Linked DNA regions of Homo sapiens: region 2 is linked to region 1. Evidence: promoter capture Hi-C in human tissues and cell types (Jung and others, 2019). All regions are on one chromosome and are shown on one strand. Each heading gives the region's core, a stretch centred on a gene start or on the middle of the fragment in contact. The rest is flanking DNA. Distances are from core to core; before and after follow the strand shown.

The links. Contacts are between HindIII fragments. The study calls those that stand out against the background at their distance.
Region 2: a contact is called between a fragment that was not itself captured here and the fragment with the promoter of ZNF683 in region 1, in 1 of the 25 tissues and cell types used here (aorta).

Annotation. Positions count from the first base shown.
Region 1 is chr1:26,370,910-26,376,075 of GRCh38, reverse strand. It overlaps ZNF683 (zinc finger protein 683), which reads left to right and starts at 3,326. Exons shown (of 6, transcript NM_001114759.3): 1 at 3,326-3,407. The HindIII fragment of the contact is 13,714 bases long and covers 1-5,166 here.
Region 2 is chr1:25,008,723-25,013,888 of GRCh38, reverse strand. No RefSeq gene overlaps it. Among named protein-coding and RNA genes, the nearest start is that of MIR4425, 12 kb to the left of the region's middle. The HindIII fragment of the contact is 7,313 bases long and covers 1-5,166 here.

The DNA.
Region 1 (5,166 bases), core at 2,077-4,576:
CCAATGTGGTGAAACCCCGTCTCTACTAAAAATACAAAAAAATTAACTGGGCTTGGTGGCGCATGCCTGTAGTCCCAGCTTGAACAGGAGAATTGCTTGAACCCAGGAGGCAGAGGTTGCTAGTGAGCCAAGATCACACCACTGTACTCCAACCTGGGAGGCAGAGTCAGATTCTGTCTCAAAAAAAAAAAAAAAGAAAAGAAAAGAAAAGAAAACCCGGAAGAGCAATGTGCATCAATATATTCCCATGTTTGTATAAAACACAATTTAGCCTTTCAGCCCCTATGCTCAGGCCCACTCCAACACTGTGGAGTGTACTTTATTTTCAATAAATCCCTTCATTTCTTCGTTGCTTTGTTTCTGCTTTTTGTCCAATTCTTTGTTCAAGATGCCAAGAACCTGGACACCCCCCACCAGTGACATATTTTGGCCAGCCAGCCCGGAGGAAGGGCCGCTCAGGGAAAGAGAGCCCAGAAACCTGGCATACCAGCAAAAGGAGGCCATCAAGCTTCAGATGATCATGCAACAAAGGCTCCAGCCAGTCCAGGTGAAGACACCACCCCTGGCCATCAAGAAGCTACCCTGCCTCCACTAGACAGAACAAGGTGAGGGTTCCATGATCCCCAATAAGTAGGGACTACGCCCCATGCCAGCATGAAGCAGTCCCAGGAAAAAGACCATCGGTCCCTCTGCCTCCCGTGAAGATTTACGGGGACCACAATCACATCTCTTAGCGGGGAGATGAGGCAGGAAAATAGGGGCTGGAGGCAGGAAACATAAGGCCAATTCACACTTCAGCTCTGACAGGAAATAGCTTCTCCCTGAGTACATGACATTGTAACTTTACTTCATTCTCTTCATTTACATAGGGCGTACCACAAGCAGAAGGTATTTAAACTCTCAAAAACTCTGTAATGGGGCCTTTGAGCCCCTATGCTCAGGCCTGCTCCCACACTGCAGAGTGTACTTTCATTTTCAATAAGTCACTTCATTCCTTAGGAAAAAAAAAAGCAATTAAAAAAATCAATTTACCTGTTTGTTGGTTCATAGAAAAATGTCTGGAAGGGTAAACACTAAACAATTCACATTGACCACTGGGAAATTGCGAAGGAGGAGGAGCTTCCATTTTTCGTTTTTACATTTTCTGTTGTTTGAAATGTTTACCACTAGTATGTATTATTTTGCAACTAACGAAAGGAAGAAGAAAGTGTGCAGTGAGCACCGGGAGCCCAAGGACCCAGCCCCTCCAGCTCTTGTCCCCTAATGTGGAGGCACCTCCTCTTCAGAGGCCTCCCGAATGTGCCCCTTGCACCTGGAGTCAGCTCCCTACTCCCCCTCTGTCCGCACTTCCCAAACCCACTCTGGTGATCATGGGCTTTCCTTGGCTTGGGTCTCTGGTCTGGGTCAAGGCATCTGCTCAGGTTCCTCAGTTAGAAGACCATGGTCCTCCCTCTGTGCTACCTCCCCAGGGCATGTGGGACAAAGTGACATCACATTTAGGCCTGTGACATCACAGGGCATGGATGACACAAGACAGATGATCTGGGAGATGACAGCAAGGAAGGGCTTGGCAGGCAGAGGCTTCTCCACGTGGGAACCTGAGGGAGTCTGTCCTCAGCCCACCTCCTGGGGCATTTCCTAGCCAAGCCAGGGAGCTTTCAGGATTGGAGACCTGGAAATCTCCAAGGCCATTTCCTTTTTTATTTTTTTCTAACAGAGAGGTTGTGCAAAGTGTTCTGAGAGCTGGGAGCAGAGTGTGATGCCAGGAGGGAGCACAGCTGGCAGATGGAAGCCAAAGGTGTGTGGGGAAGTGCCTTGGAGGGGAGGAAACTTCACTCGGTGCCCCTCACTTCCCTGTGATTCCCAGCAAGACAGCAGGGGAGGCGGGCTTGTGGCCTGGGGGTCTGAGAGGGCTCTTCCTTTTAGGGAGTAGAGTTTTGGTGAACTAAGCCCCTCCATTACGCTGAAGGATACTGAGGGGGCCACTGAGGAGTTGGGGGAAGGACTGGGAACAGCATGTGGGAAGAGAGAGCAAGAAAGAAAGAAATGAGGGGGTGGCTGTCGTAGTGGGGGAAGCTGACATGGCCAAGAGATGGCAGAGTCTGAGGTTTACCACTAAAGAGCTCTTGGCTACTTGTTGTGTGACTCTGGATGAGCTGCTAATAATAAAATCCACCACACAGGCTTATTGTGAAGACTAAATGAGATAAAGTTTATGAAGCCCCTAGCACAGTGCCAGACACAGCAAGAAAGCTGTTTGTAAAGGTGGCTATTTACTCTGTTCCTTGGACAATTCCAGCTGGAACCCTGTTACTTTATCTTCTATTCTGGGCATGTATAATGCAGAATTATCAGTTGTAAGCTACAAAAACCATTTCAGGAGGAGTTAAGCAGAAGGAATTTGTTTAAAAGATGTTAGAAAAGCTCGCAGGAGGTCTGAGAAGGCTGGAGAGCAAGGCTTGGAGAATAGGATGGATCAAGGGAGGCTGGAAGTAGACAGGACCATGGCCAAATATCACACCCCAGGACCAGCCCTGCACAGATTCTGCAGCCTCCCCTGAACCCCCTTCTTTCCTTCACTGCCCTGGAAGCCGGATGTGGTACCACAGCCTTTGTTGTAGAGAGGAGTTTCCACAGACCTGCCACCTCAGGACCAGTGGCTTTTTTTATTGTATTTTATTTTATTTTGAGATGGAGCCTCACTCTGTTGCCCAGCCTGGAGTGTAGCAGAGCCATCTCAGCTCACTGCAACCTCCGCCTCCCGGGTTCAAGCAATTCTCCTGCCTCAGTCTCCCAAGTAGCTGGAAATACAGGCACGTGCCACCACACTTGGCTAATTTTTGTATTTTTGTAGAGATGGGGTCCCACCATGTTGGCCAGGCTGGTCTTGAACTCCTGACCTCAAGTGATCTGCCCGCCTCGGCCTCCCAAAGTCCTGGGATTACAGGCGTGAGCCACTGCGCTCAGCCAGTGGCACTAGCTTCTGATCTGCTAGTCTACTGGGCTGCAGTGGAGATTAATGGCTGCTTGGGGCTTTTGTACCCTGGGCCAGACTCACGCACACCAGAATTTGTGTGAGGCCACAGGGGTTATGCCTCTTCTCATGCTCACAAGACTCGGCTTGGCAAGGAAATGTCCCAGGAGGTGGGCTAAGACAGACTCCCTCAGGTTCCCACATGGAGCAGCCTCTGCCTGCCAAGCCCTTCCTTGCTCTCGTCTCCCAGATCATCTGTCTTGTCAGCCTCCATGCCCTGTGATGTCACAGGCCTAAATGTGATGTCACTTTGTCCCACATGCCCTGGGGAGGTAGCACAAAGGGAGGACCATGGTCTTCTAACTGAGGAACCTGAGCAGATGCCTTGACCCAGACCAGAGACCCAAGCCAAGGAAAGCCCATGATCACCAGAGTAGGTTGGGAAGTGCGGATAGAGGGGAAGTAGTTTTTATTTTTTTCTAACAGAGAAGTTGTGCAAGGTGTTCTGAGAGTTGGGAGCAGAGTGTGATGCCAGGAGAGGGCAGAGCTGGCAGATGGAAGCCAAAGGTGTGCGGGTCACCCCTTCTGGGTGGGGACATCTGATCGACCTAGTCCATGTATGCCTGCATGAAGTGCTGGTGAGGGAGGTTGGAATTAAGTATTTGGCCATTTCGGCTTTTATAATGGGAGGTACCTTTTGCCTCCCTCAAGACTCATGTAGGGGAAAAGTTTCAGAGGCTGGGCGTCCAAAAAAACCTGACAGATGTCTACATGGAAAACCAAAATGAGTAGACAGAGGACCCTGTCCTTGAGATGCTCACAAACATGTTGGGATCAGTTATGTGGAGGATGAGTCACAGCCCTAGGGGCTGAGCTGGCAGAGAAACCCCAGGAACATGCCCCAGCCCATGGTGCACAGCCTGAGATGTCCCTGTATATTCTGGGACACCAGGGTGGCGTGGCTGGGGTGCAGATTGATGGCTGGTTGGGGCTTTTGCACCCTGGGCCAGACTCACGCACACCAGAATTTGTGTAAGGCCGCAGGGGTGATGCCTCTTCTCATGCTCACAAGAATAATGACATTGCTCAGGCTAAAAAGCCACTTTCTGGCCTATGAGGTCTCCCTTTTTGTATCTAGACATGTCTTTTCCTTATTTATTAACTTTTTTTAAGACAGGGTCTCGCTCTGTCACCCAGGCTGGAGTGCAGTGGCATGATCTCAGCTCACTGCAGTCTCGACCTCCCTGGCTCAAGTGATCCTCCCACCTCAGCCTCCTGAGTAGCTGGAACAACAGGCATGCGCTACCATGCCTGGCTAATTTTTGTATTTTTTGTAGAGATGGTGTTTCACCATGTTGCTCATGCTGGTCTTGAACTCCTGGGCTCAAGCAGTTGGCCCACCTCAGCCTCCCAAAGTGCTGGGATTACAGATGTGAGCCACCACACCTGGCCTAGTCATGCCTTACACCCATTTTGCTATGTCTATTTTTTTTTTTTTTAAAGAGACAGGGTCTTTCTCTGTCACCCAGGCTAGAGTGCAGTGGCAATATCCTAGTTCACTGCAGCCTTATATTCCTGGGCTCAAGTGATCCTCCTGCCTCAGCCTCCTGAGTAGCTGGGACCAGAGGTGCAAGTCACCATGCCCAGCTAAGTTTTGTATTTTTTGTAGAGATGAGGTCTTGCTTTGTTGCCCAGGCTGATCTCAAACTCCTGGGCTCAAGAGATGGGTCTGCCTTGGTCTCCTGAAGTGCTGGGATTACAGATGTGAGCCACTTCACCTGGCCATGTGCTTGAATTATCTTTTGCCTCTTGGGGCCTCTAGATTAGAGGATAGAACTTTCCAGGGTCAGGAGATCTGAGATGGGACTTGGAGGAGGAAAACGTGTTTGCTGTATCTCTGTGAGATCAGCTGCCTTCTCTGTCCTCTGTCTCATTCCATATCCTTCTATGTTGCCTGTTCTTGTCTCTGCCTGTTCCTGTCCCTACCTGTCACCATCACTGTCTCCCTGTCATCATCAATGCCTATCTTCATCTCAGCTTGGCTCCCCTCCACAGAAGGCTCCCCTGTTCAGCCTTTGAGCCCTACTCTGTCCTCCCGTCCAGCCATCTGGGTACTTTGAGAACAGAAATAACAGCCCGCCCCCCTCACACACACATCCTGAAATTCCAGTAGCCCCAGTTCACTGCAATCC
Region 2 (5,166 bases), core at 789-3,288, 1.4 Mb after region 1:
AGCCAACATCTCGTAGACACGTGCTGCCAGATGGGCATCATGCCAATGTTATCTCAGTTTGTCCTCTCCATCCTATGAGGCTTATCAACACCAGCACCAAGCATCCCCATTTCACAGATGAGAAACTGAGGCCTGTTTGTTTCACTGAGCACCTGCTCTGCCCTCTCCCCTGAGAATGGGAAGGAAACTGTGCAAGGTGCCACAGCAGCAAGAGCCACGGCCTGGATTCGAGCTCGGGAACATTAGACACCAAAGCTCTAAGCCCTCCAAGCCCTGGGTGGACTGTGATGGGCAGACAGGTCCTGGCAGGGTTCCTGGAGTGAGGCAGCTGCTGTGAAGGTGGCAGTGGGAGGTGACACCTGTCAGAATCCAGAAAGCCTGGGTGCAGGCCCTGGGCTGTCAGTAAAGAGGAGGTGAGGTGTCTCCACTTGTGCCGGACCCAGGCTGGTGTCAGGACAGCAGGAGGTGTGGGTCTTCAGGTCCAGAGAACGCCTCAGGCCTGGTGTGGGTAGCACTGGTGACTGTGACGTGTCACCTGACACATGACTCCAGGTGACTGAGCATCTACTGCCTCTCCACCTCTGTTCCAGGCACTTCCTGCCCACTAACACAACTATCCAGAAAGCAGGACTACCACATCCCCATTTTACAGATGAAGACGCCAAGGAACAGAGAGGTCTAGTCAATTGCCCAAGGTCACAAAGCTAGGAAGGAGCAGAGTCACCGTCAAAGTCCAGACCCCCACCCTTGAACAGCTGTGCCATCCACCTCAAGTGTAGATACCTGCATGAAACCAAGAGGATCTGACATCTAGACTCTTGAACCTGCTGCCCGGGTTCAAATCCCAGCTCTGCCACTTACCGGCTGTAGGACCTTGGGCAACCGACTCAACCTCTCTGTGTATTCCAGTTTCCCCATCCATGAAATGGGGATAAAAATCAAGTACCTCCCTTAGGGGTACTTTGATGCTTAATATATCAAGTAGCCCGGCCCAGAGCAGGCCCCAGGAAAGAGTGGACTGTGGAAATTCACGTGGGGAATTTTTCATGGGAAAAATCTTTCATGGGAAGATAGTATATGCGGGATGGTCAGCAGTGGTTACTTTGGGAGTGGAATGGCAGGAGGCTTCCACTTTGTAATCACCACACTTCAACACATTCTCTGTTTTTACCTATGTTGTGATATATATTTTTTAAATAAAGAAAACTCTCTGAGCTGGGTGTGAGTGGGTGTCAAGACGTCTCTTGTGGCTAGTAAGTTGCTCTCTTTAGAGAAAAAAACAGGGCATTTTTATTGTACTTCACATAATCTGAGACACAGCTCATGGGGGTGCACAGAGGCCATGTCATTTCCATTCAGAGTGACAGGAAACAATCTGGCCCTCACTGGGCGCTCCATGCACAGGGCTGTGGGAGGAGCGCCAGCCCTGGAGCCCAGGACGTAGGTATCAGCCTCCTGTTCTGCCCCAACTTGTGATGAAATCTTTATTTGTTTGCTCAGCAAACTCCCCCTGCTGCTTCCTTGGTGCCAGGCCCTGGACTCCAGGGCTCTGAGTGTCCACTTCTCACTTGCGCCTACTGCGAATCCTGGAGACAAAAGGTAGGACAAGGCAGAAGCAGTCCCTGTCCCTCTGTGACCTGCAACCCAGCAAGGGAAGCCAGCACTATCAAATCATCCCACAAGCAAAGGTCAAATTACCACCTAATGAGTGTGGGAGTGGGGGGCGGGAGTGATGGAGAATAGGCGCTTGGAGAACCTCCCTGGGGACAGAGAATGATCAAGGCGAGGGGAAGTGCTCCTACAGATGAAGGGTGCACTGCCATGGGGAGCTAGAACGGCGTAAGCAAAGGTCAGGCAGTGCAAGGGATCCTCGTGAACCTGAGGGAGTGAGAGTGCCAATGGAATGAAGATGCTGACGGGGAGCTCGGTGTGAGACAAGAAGGAGGGGGGCAGGGCCAGGCCACAGAGGACATTGTAGCAGGGATCTGACCTTTATTCCAAGAGCCAGAGGCCATGAAGGGGATTAGGGACGGGGGCTAAAGATTTCATCCGAGATCCCCCTAGAGCATGGGGAGAAGGGAATGGGTGGAGGGTCAGAGTGGACCCCTGCCAATCTCCAGTTCTTCGAACTGCACAGGCCTGTACACAGCAGCATCAATAAATGGCTCTTTTCTCGGATCCATTCTTCTTCAACTCATGGAAGTAAAATTTAGATCTCAATTTTTATTATTTATTTAATGACTTCTTTTTCTGAACACAAAATATGTAGTCTAGAGTGCAAAGCGATAGGAAATTACCAAATTTGATGAGCTGCTGTGGGAATTAGGGGTTCGGCTCACTTCCTGAGGTTTTCTCAAAGGGAGAACCAGGGACAGAGGGTGCAGCTATGAGAATAAGGAAGAAGCCCTAAGCCTGTTTTAGGAGCTGTTCTAAGATCCCCAAGTTCCTTGATAGGTAGTGAGTTCCCTATTTCCGGGGCACACGTAAGCTGTCAAAGTATAATTTCAAAAAAAATAGAGTAAAAGCATAACTCTCATTCAAATATAGGTTGAACACATGTCAAAATTTGTTTAACTCCTGAATGAGGGAACCAGTAAGAAGATAAAGCTGATTCAAAGGAGAAGTAGAGGAATAGCACTACAGAATACTGGGAAAAGAATACTGGAATACAATGGCTCAGTGAGATACAAAACTGGTTAATGTCCTGATGGGCCAGAAGTCCGTAACTTTTGGGGCATTTTCTACTGGACAGAAATCTATATATTAACATATAACTTCTAAAGTCTGGTCTTCTAATGGCTCATACTAAGTCAAAGGTACCTTCCTCTAGATAATTAAATACTATCTTAGTCTGTTTGGGGAGCTATAACAAAATACCATAAACTGGGTAATGCATAAACCACAGATATTTATTTCTCACGGTTCTGGAGGCTGGGAAATCCAAGATCAAGGCGTCTGGTGAGGGCCCGTGTTCTCATAGATGGTGCCTTCCCGCTGTGTCTTCACTTGGTGGAAGGGGCAAGGCAGCTTTCTGGGGCCTCTTTTATAAAGACACTAATTCTATTCATGAGGACTCCACACTCATGATTCAATGACCTCCTAAAGGCCCTTCCTCCTAACCCCATCCCATTGGTGATTAAATTTCAACATATGAATTTTGCAAAGACACAAACATTCAGACCATAGCAGATACCCTTAGTGGGCCTGCTAAACAACACCCCAATATGACATTGAAAAGACCTGCTGCCCTGTCTTTGCCTATTTCCAAGTTTTGGGTAATTTTTCTTAACAAAGCTGGAGCAAATGGCTGCAGTGAGAGGCTGCAGGAGAGTTCTGGTGGTGGAGGGGCTGGCTGGCATGTTATCTTTTGCTGTGTAAAAGATTACCCCAAAACCTGCTGGCTTAAAACAATAAACATTTATTATGTTGCAATTTCTGCAGGCCAGGAATTCGAGAGCAGCTCAGCTGGGCATTTCTTGCTCAGGGTCTCTCAGGAGGCTGCGATCATGTGTCAGCTTGGACTACACTCATCTGAAGTCTTGACTGGGGCTGGCAGACCTGCACCCAAGGTGGTGCACTCACACAGCTGGCAAGGTGGTGCAAACTGTTGGCTGGCCTTGCCATGTGGGCCTCTCCATGGGTTGCTTGAATGTCCTCACAGCATGGCAGCCAGCTTCTCTCAGAGCAAGTGATCGATCCCAGAGAGAAGTAAAGCAGAAAAGTAGTATGCCTTTAATGACCTAGCCTCAGAAGTCACACTCATTCATTTCTGCAGTAGCCTATTGCCTACAGAAGTCAGCCCTGCCCAGTGTGGGTGGGGACTTCCTAAGGGAGGTGGTTAAGGGCCTTGTCAGTTTTGGAGACTGGTTCCTGCACTGGGCACCTTCAGGGTGCCTCAAGCCAGAGGCTGGAGTTGGTGCCGGTAGCAAGCAGGGATTGCCTTCAGCTGTATCACTGCCCAGGCTCCTTCCTATTCACCTGCTTGCAGCTGCTACACAGTGTAGGGCCTGGGACAGATGGCTCTGCTTTGGAGTCTCTCATTGTAGCACCTGGTTGTGTCTTCTGAGTAGCTTTCCCACCCCAGAATCTCAGCCCACAACAAAGTCTGTCTCTGGGAGAGTGCAGACGGTCAATCATTCACACCTTAGTATGAATGAGTTCATCAAACTTCACCTCTGGCAGTAGAAAAAATGTGAGATTTGGGATGGGAGCTGGGGCAGAGGGGTGTCGAGGTTGTAGGGAGGGTGGGTTGAGCAGTAGCCTTTCTGGGGAGTGGCAGAGGAGACTGTCTTGGAGGGAGCATTCAAAGGGGGACACCTCAGGCAGCACATGGGAGACTCCCTGAAAGCCAGTGGGGAGAGGAGGACCCAGGAGGCTGCCCACTGCTGAGGGTCACGGGAATCACCAAGTACCCAGGTGAGGGCATCAGGAGAGGGCAGAGCATGGCAAAGAGAAGCTTCTGTTCCTGGTGGTTTGACCCTGGCTGCCCGTCAGGACATGCCTGGCTGCCTGCTGGTGTGTCTGATTGAGGGGTGGTCTGCAGACCAGCAGAGCCAGACATAGCATCTGGGCCACCCTGGGCTCCCAGGGAAGTGAGGAAGGAAGGAGGATCCCACTTTGCCCATGCAGGCTGGCAACAGCCAGGGTTGGGAGTGTGACCAACCAAGAGACGCATTTCCCAGAGGCCTCCCGAGGCTTCAGGCCCAAGGCTGACCCGAAGCTTCCAGGCAAGGCAGCTGGAAAGAAGAGCCGGCGGTCCAGGGTGCAGACCTGGCCCTGTCCTCCACTGCACTCTGCTGAGCCATCAGACGGCTTCCTTCCCCGCCCTGGTTCCCAGCTCCCATCTGTGGAGCAGCTCGGGGCACTGCAATGGCCAGCTCAGGGAACATTCCCTCCTCTGTCCTCTCCTCTTGGCCAATCCTCATCAGAGGAGGAGGTGGGCAACCGGGAGAGAGGGTAATGGCCCCAGGGGACCCCATGCCCAGCAGATGCCCAGAGTCTGATCTGGGGTAGGTAGCCTCAGGGCGAGCCCAGGGGCACATCCAGCTGGGATATAAAGCTTATGGAAATGTCCCAGAGACGTTCATTTGAGGAGAAAGGGGGAGGAAGTCTGCCAGTTTGGGGGGTAATTATTTTGCAAAACTTTATGAAGTTTCCGAAAATCTT